Linked DNA regions of Homo sapiens: region 2 is linked to region 1. The links are contacts of gene promoters, found by promoter capture Hi-C in human tissues and cell types (Jung and others, 2019). All regions are on one chromosome and are shown on one strand. Each heading gives the region's core, a stretch centred on a gene start or on the middle of the fragment in contact. The rest is flanking DNA. Distances are from core to core; before and after follow the strand shown. Region 1 holds the start of SMIM14 (small integral membrane protein 14). Region 2 overlaps LINC02265 (long intergenic non-protein coding RNA 2265).

What was found. The method cuts DNA at HindIII sites, captures the fragments that hold promoters and counts their contacts. A contact is called where the count stands out against the background at its distance.
Region 2: a contact is called between a fragment that was not itself captured here and the fragment with the promoter of SMIM14 in region 1, in 2 of the 25 tissues and cell types used here (hippocampus and pancreas).

Annotation. Positions count from the first base shown.
Region 1 is chr4:39,637,312-39,640,605 of GRCh38, forward strand. It overlaps SMIM14 (small integral membrane protein 14), which reads right to left and starts at 1,554. Exons shown (of 5, transcript NM_174921.3): 1 at 1,428-1,554. SMIM14-DT (SMIM14 divergent transcript) reads left to right here and starts at 1,829. Exons shown (of 6, transcript NR_183845.1): 1 at 1,829-1,983. RefSeq lists an enhancer at 1,496-2,213. The HindIII fragment of the contact is 11,439 bases long and covers 1-3,294 here.
Region 2 is chr4:40,317,538-40,320,831 of GRCh38, forward strand. The region is part of intron 2 of LINC02265 (long intergenic non-protein coding RNA 2265); the gene reads left to right. Among named protein-coding and RNA genes, the nearest start is that of LINC02265, 12 kb to the left of the region's middle. The HindIII fragment of the contact is 3,787 bases long and covers 1-3,294 here.

The DNA of each region.
Region 1 (3,294 bases), core at 304-2,803:
AAAGAACTTCAAGAAATCTTTCCTTCTTCTAAATCAGAAGGATTCCAACTACAGTAGTAAGAAAAAATATCTCAACGGCAAACACTGGAGAAAAGATTCGTTAAGGGGTTCATGTTATACCACAAGGACATACCCTTCAAGGAAATAATCTAAACTCATAACTCTTCCTGGGTTTGATAAGGAGCAATTAACTATCACGTACTGTTGTTCTTTCTTGCTGTTAACCACTGAAACACCTCAATTAATGAGTTCTCGGGGGTGAAGCGGTGTTCTTAAACACCACGTTGGAAAAAAAAAAAAAGTTAGGACAAAAAGGTTTGGTTTTCTGGTCGCAGTGCTGTCGACGGCCGCGGAGAGCGGCAAGTTCGGAGCAGGCTACACTAAAGGAATCTGCGCGGCCAGCCACCCTAAGTGGAAGGGAATGCAAAGCCTCCTGCAACCTCCACAGCGCTGGGCAGCAAGAATGCCTCCTAAGCGTCCCAACACTCCAACACCTGGAAGGTCTTACGCTTTCCAAGTTATAATATGTACAGCTGCTGTTTCTGACAATAACACACACAAACTGGAAGGTCTCTTCTGCAAATGTAGCTATTACGTGTGTGAAGCTCATCCGACTCTCTCGATGCAAAAGTAACACATTCTATTAAGGCCACAGCCTCGGTTTTGCCAACTGGGGCAACTGAAAACATCCTACCGACTCTCTACAGCTAGCAAACCATCTCGGCTAAAATCCTGGCACATATAAACAGCCACTTTGGTGAAGTCTGCCTTTAAACAGCAACACGGGACTTCGGGTAGAGCCGGTAACCAGTTTATCACACACTATTAGTTCCAATAAAGGGTGCTGCTACCTCTTTACTGTCAGCCTTGGTTCCACTTACTGAGCAAACAGAAAAAGGGGATCCTTTAAATTCGCGACACAATAGGAGCTAAAAAGCTCTCGCTTTCAGGGTGTCAGCTTTCTCGTCTCACTTATCACAACAAAGGACGCATCCTAGTGACTTCACCGTACCCAGAAAGGGCTGAGGGAGACGGTAAACAAGATAGTGTGGATTTCAGGATTTGTGAGTTTTTCCTTCCAGCTACGACTCTCTTTTTACTCCATGATACGCCTCCACCCGTCGACAATCTGATCCTAAAAATAAAACCACCCGTGGCTACCTTGCCCTTGCCTGCAAAGCCCCGACTCTGACATCCTGCAGAGAATACCCAATTGCAGGCTCTTCGCGGGGGACGCGGGCTCGGCAGCAGCGGAGCTTCTCCCGGTGCAGAATCGCCAGCCCGGCCGAGGAAACGCCAAGCCCGAGAAACAGCCCTGTTCTGCCGCAGCCGCCGCAGTCCCCGAGAGCCTGAGGAGCCCCCAGGAAAAACTGGGGCGAGGGGAGGGTGAGCCAGCAAACGCTGGTGGGAGAGGGGGAGACACTCACCCGCCCAGACAACAACCGATGGGGCGGGGAGGATGGGGGCCGGGACCGAGGCTCGGCAGAAAGACCGCCTGGAGCTTCCAGAAGGCTGCGGCTGCTCCGGACGCTGCTGCCACTGCCGTTTCTGGCCGCCGGCTTCCTCCCCCTCCTCTGTTTTGATTCGAGTGACCACGTCACTCTTAGCCACAAGACCCGGATCTGCCGGCTCCCGCGGGCGGCGGCGCAACAGATTGCAGCGCCTGGAGACTCCAGCTGCCCCGCCTGCCGAGCATGCGCATGCCCAGCGCCTGCCCTGTGCGTCCCGGGAAGCCGGGCGGGAGCCTGCGGCTTCGGACGCCTACGACACGCTGTGCGTGGGGGCGCGGAGTGCGGGGGATGTAGTTCCGGTTGGGAGGGGCGTGGCTGAGGACTGTGAAGCAATCGGGGCGAGGCCGGGTGTCTGTTCAACTCTCCCGCGTATCGTCTGTTTCTTCGGCGGCGGACAGTGTTCTGTAATGTGTCTCCCGTTGCCCGAGCTAAAGGTTTTCCTCGACGGAGTCTTTAGAATACCGTGGTAGAGGTAGACGCGGTTACAAATTGATGTCTGTTGAGACAGTCTACCCCTGTAAAGTGTTTTTGGTTACTCAGGCCCGGATGGAAATTGGAGATGGGGATTACAAAAATACATCAAATGTGGCTGTTATTGATTCCCTTTACCTTAACATTTTTGCACCGGAAACGACCAAAATTAAGTTCAACAGGAATATTAATAAAAGGAATATGTAGTCGGGCTTGGTGACTCATGCCTGTAATCCCAGCACTTCAGGAGGCAGAGGTGGGCGGATCACTTGAGGTCAGGAGTCCGAGACCAGCCTGGCCGACATGGTGAAACCCCATCTCCACTAAAAACACAAAAATTAGCCGGGCATGGTGGTGCCCGCTTGTAGTCCCAGCTACTCGGGAGGCTGAGGTGGAAGAATCGCTTGAACCCGGGAGGCGGAGGTTGCAGTGAGCCGAGATCGCGCCACTGCACTCCAGCCTGGGTGATAGTGAGACTTTGTCTCAAACTAAATAATTAAAGATATGTGACCAAAGATGACTTGCTGGTCAGGAGATAATGGGGAAGTAGGAGGGAATGCTGTGGCTAGGCAGCCAGCCAGCCCAAGTCTTAGTTGCTTTGGTTGTAGAGCTGGAATAAGAGTGCTGCTTTTACCCAATCTTCCTTTTAGAGCAAGTTGGTGCTTCCTATTCTCCCATTCTAGTCTCTGAGTCTCCCCGCTAAATTTTGGGGGCCCTGGAAATTTCCCAATTTGGCAAAATGCAGAACTATATTGTTTTCTTAGGTCCTTCAGTTGGCAAGCTTTAATTAAAATGGGACAAGTGGCGAAGTAAAAGTGAATCCCAAACAAAGATTTTACGAAAGTGCCTCTCTGCCAGTCTTGACGGAGAGGTGAAAGCTGCAAGCTTTCTTACTCAGATTTGATGACCTTTTCACTTACCCAGACTTCCACCTCAGCAATTTGGTTAATTACCCCTCGACAAGCTGAATCACCTTCCCCAAATAAGTATCATTTACAAGAGCTTTTTAATTAAAGTGGATATTGAACACAGGTAAAGGTTTCTAGAAAATTAAAGGTTTCTGGTAAAACTTGAAGTGTTTCCCAGTTAACTAATTGCAAAGTAGATACAAAGAATAAAGATTTTGGCCCTTAATCTGCAACCTTGAACTCTGCTTACTCAAATTCAGAGTTTGAGATGGAATCTGGTGCCCTAATGAGCTGACACTGTACCAAAGGGTCTTTAATTTGTGCAACTCCAAACAAAATCTGTTATGCTTGAGTGCACCCATGGGCACGTATGTGTTTGAGAACACAGCTGTGTTTAAGAGAAC
Region 2 (3,294 bases), core at 336-2,835, 680 kb after region 1:
TGTCTTCAAACTTCTGAACCAATGTCCTGCATTCCATGTATGTGGCTCATGGTTCTGACCACTGCTGCTTTAAAATGACAGACCTCTGGGCCGGGCACGGTGGCTCACGCCTGTCTGTAATCCCAGCACTTTGGGAGGCCGAGGCGGGCAGATTACGAGGTCAGGAGATCGAGACCATCCTGGCTAACACGGTGAAACCCCTGTCTCTACTAAAAATACAAAAAAAAAAAAAAAAAAAAAAAAAAAAAAAAAAATTAGCCGGGCTTGGTGGCGGGCGCCTGTAGTTCCAGTCCCAGCTACTCCGGAGGCTGAGGCAGTAGAATTGCTTGAATCCAGGAGGCGAAGCTTGCAGTGAGCCGAGATCGTGCCACTGCACTCCAGCCTGGATGACAGAGTGAGACTCCATCTCTCACACACACAAAAAACAAAACAAAACAAACAAACAAACAAACAAACAAAAAGACAGACCCCTGGAAGGTAAATGAAGAGAGGGACCAACAGTGACTGCCCCTCCTTCTCTGGCAGCTCTTGAGGGCAGGCCCTTCTCTTTTCATCTTGTACTCCAGGGCTTATCAAAAGGGCTTAGTATAAGTAGACTCCACAGATGCTTGTGGTCTGAATGATATGTGGAGCCCAGTGGGGTAGATAATATTATTCCTTTCACCCATGAGGAAACTGAGGTGCAAAGAAGATTTTTTAAAAATGCCTGAGATCTCTCACTAATAAATGACAGAACAGAAACTCCAGTCCCAAATCCCAAAGGCTTTTTTTCTACCAAGATGCACCCCCACGCCTCCACCATGCACTCCATCTTGCTGGTCCAGTCCGTCAAGTGAGAGCCTCGTTTTTGGTCTCTGCCTCCTATGGATCAGTCCACCCTGGAGGCACAACCTTCTTTCCCTTCTCTGAACTTCTGGTTCAGACCTCTCATTTGGCAGCGAGTCACGCCTTTAAGGAATAGTTGGCAGGGTGCAGTGGCTCACGCCTATAATCCCAGCACTGTGGGAGGCTGATGTGGGCAAATCGCTTGAGCTTAGGAGTTCGGGACTAGCCCGGGCAACATGGTGAAATCCCTGTCTCTACTAAAAATAAAAAAAAAAAGTAGCTGGATGTGGTGGCGGTGCCTGTGGTCCCAGCTCTCTGGAGGCCGAGGTGGGAGGATCGCTTGAGTCCAGGAGGCAGAGGTTGCAATGACCTGAGATTGCACCATTGCACTCCAGTGGGTGACAAAGCAAGACCCTGTCAAAAAAAAAAAAAAAAAGAGTCAGGTGCAGTGGCTCACGCCTGTAATCCCAGCACTTTGGGAGGCCAAGGCAGGTGGATCTCCTGAGGTCAGGAATTTGAGACCAGCCTGGCCAACATGGTGAAACCCCGTCTCTACCAAAAATACAAAAAAATTAGCCGGACCTGGTGGCAGGCGCCTGTAATCCCAGCTACTTGGGAGGCTGAGGCAGGAGAATCTTTTGAACCCGGGAGATGGAGGTTGCAGTGAGCCGAGACTGTGCCATTGAACTCCAGCCTGGGGAACAAGAGTGAGACTTCTCTCAAAAAAAAAAAAAAAATAGTCTTCTTGCTTGCATTACTTATTTAACTTTTATTGTTATTCAGCTTTTCTTAGAAATTTGTCTTTTTCCTCTAAATATTCCATAATCACCTTGAAGGATGAGATGATGTGTAGTTAATTCTTGTGAACTCTCTGCCCAGCATTCAGTAAATATTTGCAGTATGAGTGGATTTTGCAGCACTATTCTGATCAAAACTCACCTCTCAGTGCCTGTTTCTACTGGGAAACTAGGAAATATTTTTTTTGTTTTGTTTTGTGTTGTTTGAGACAGAGTCTCGCTCTGTCACCCAGGCTGGAGTGCAGTGGCCAGATCTTGGCTCACTGCAACTTCTGCATCCCGGGTTCAAGCGATTTTCCTGCCTCAGCTTCCCAAGTAGCCGGGACTACAGGCGCCCACCACCATGCCAGGCTGATGTTTGTATTTTTAGTAGAGATGGGGTTTCACCATTTTGGCCAGGCTGGTCTCGAACTCCTGACCTTGTGATCCACCCACCTTAGCCTCCCAAAGTGCTGGGATTACAGGTGTGAGCCACCATGACCAGCTGGAAGTGGTTTTAATATTTATCTTAAAACATGTATTCTCATCAAAAAGGTGATCCACTCCCCTCTGCTGAGGGGCTTACAACCTAAGTTAAGTTAAATACAGTTCTCTTTTCTCCAGAAGCTTAACTCTTGAGCTTGTACTTATCTTACTTATCTTGGCTATTACTACACTGGATTTAGGTCAAAGGTAGAATTTTTTTTTTTTTTTTGAAACAGAGTCTCACTCTGTCGCCCAGGCTGGACTGCAGTGGTGCGATCTCGGCTCACTGCAACCTCCACCTCCCGGGTTCAAGTGATTCTTTTGCCTCAGCTTCCCGAGAATCTGGGATTATAGGCGCCTGCCACCACGCCCAGCTAATTTTTATATTTTTAGTAGAGGTGGGGTTTTGCCATGTTGGCCAGGCTGGTCTCGAACTCCTGATCTCAAGTGATCTGCCTGCCTCGGCCTCCCAAAGTGCTGGGATTACAGGCATGAGCCTCTGCATCCAGGCTAGGTCAAAGGTGGAATCTAAATTCATTTAGGTCCTTCCATTTTGACTGGAATCTGTCAGCTCCCAAACACAGCACATCCGTTCCGCAACGGGGATCCACTCTGACAAGCTGGGTCACAGTGGGGCTAGTTTCTCTGCCAGGCGCATTTACATCCAAGGTTGTTTCATCTTGCTCTTAAGGCTGCCCTTTAGGGAGCCATGCTTGGCACAGGTGTGTGCACATTAAGGTTAAGACACTCAGCTGCCACCATCCTCTCACCGCGGACACCAGAAGCGTCACTGCCCAGGGAAGGCCAGCCAAGACTGCCTGGGGAATTGTGGCATGGGAGGAGGGTGACTGCCAATCAAGAGATCTCTGTCAGGCCTGGCTCTCACCACTACAATCATGTATTTCATGAGCATTTATTGGACACCTCTTGTATATCAAATACTGGGGATACCAAGACAAATGGAGCATCTGAGAGATGCTCAGTCTGGCCGGGGAGACAATAGGTAAACAGTTGAGTAACGGGATGGGCACTGTGATAGAAGTATGTACCAGAAACCACAAGAACATAGGAGAGGAAGCACGGAATTCTGCCTGGGAGGTTGGAAAGGGCTTTCTCGATTAGGTGATTTTCAAGATGAGACTTGAAAGAGAAGCTGTTCACTGGTTGGGCATGGAGGGGACAACTATTCCAGGCTGAGGGACAACAT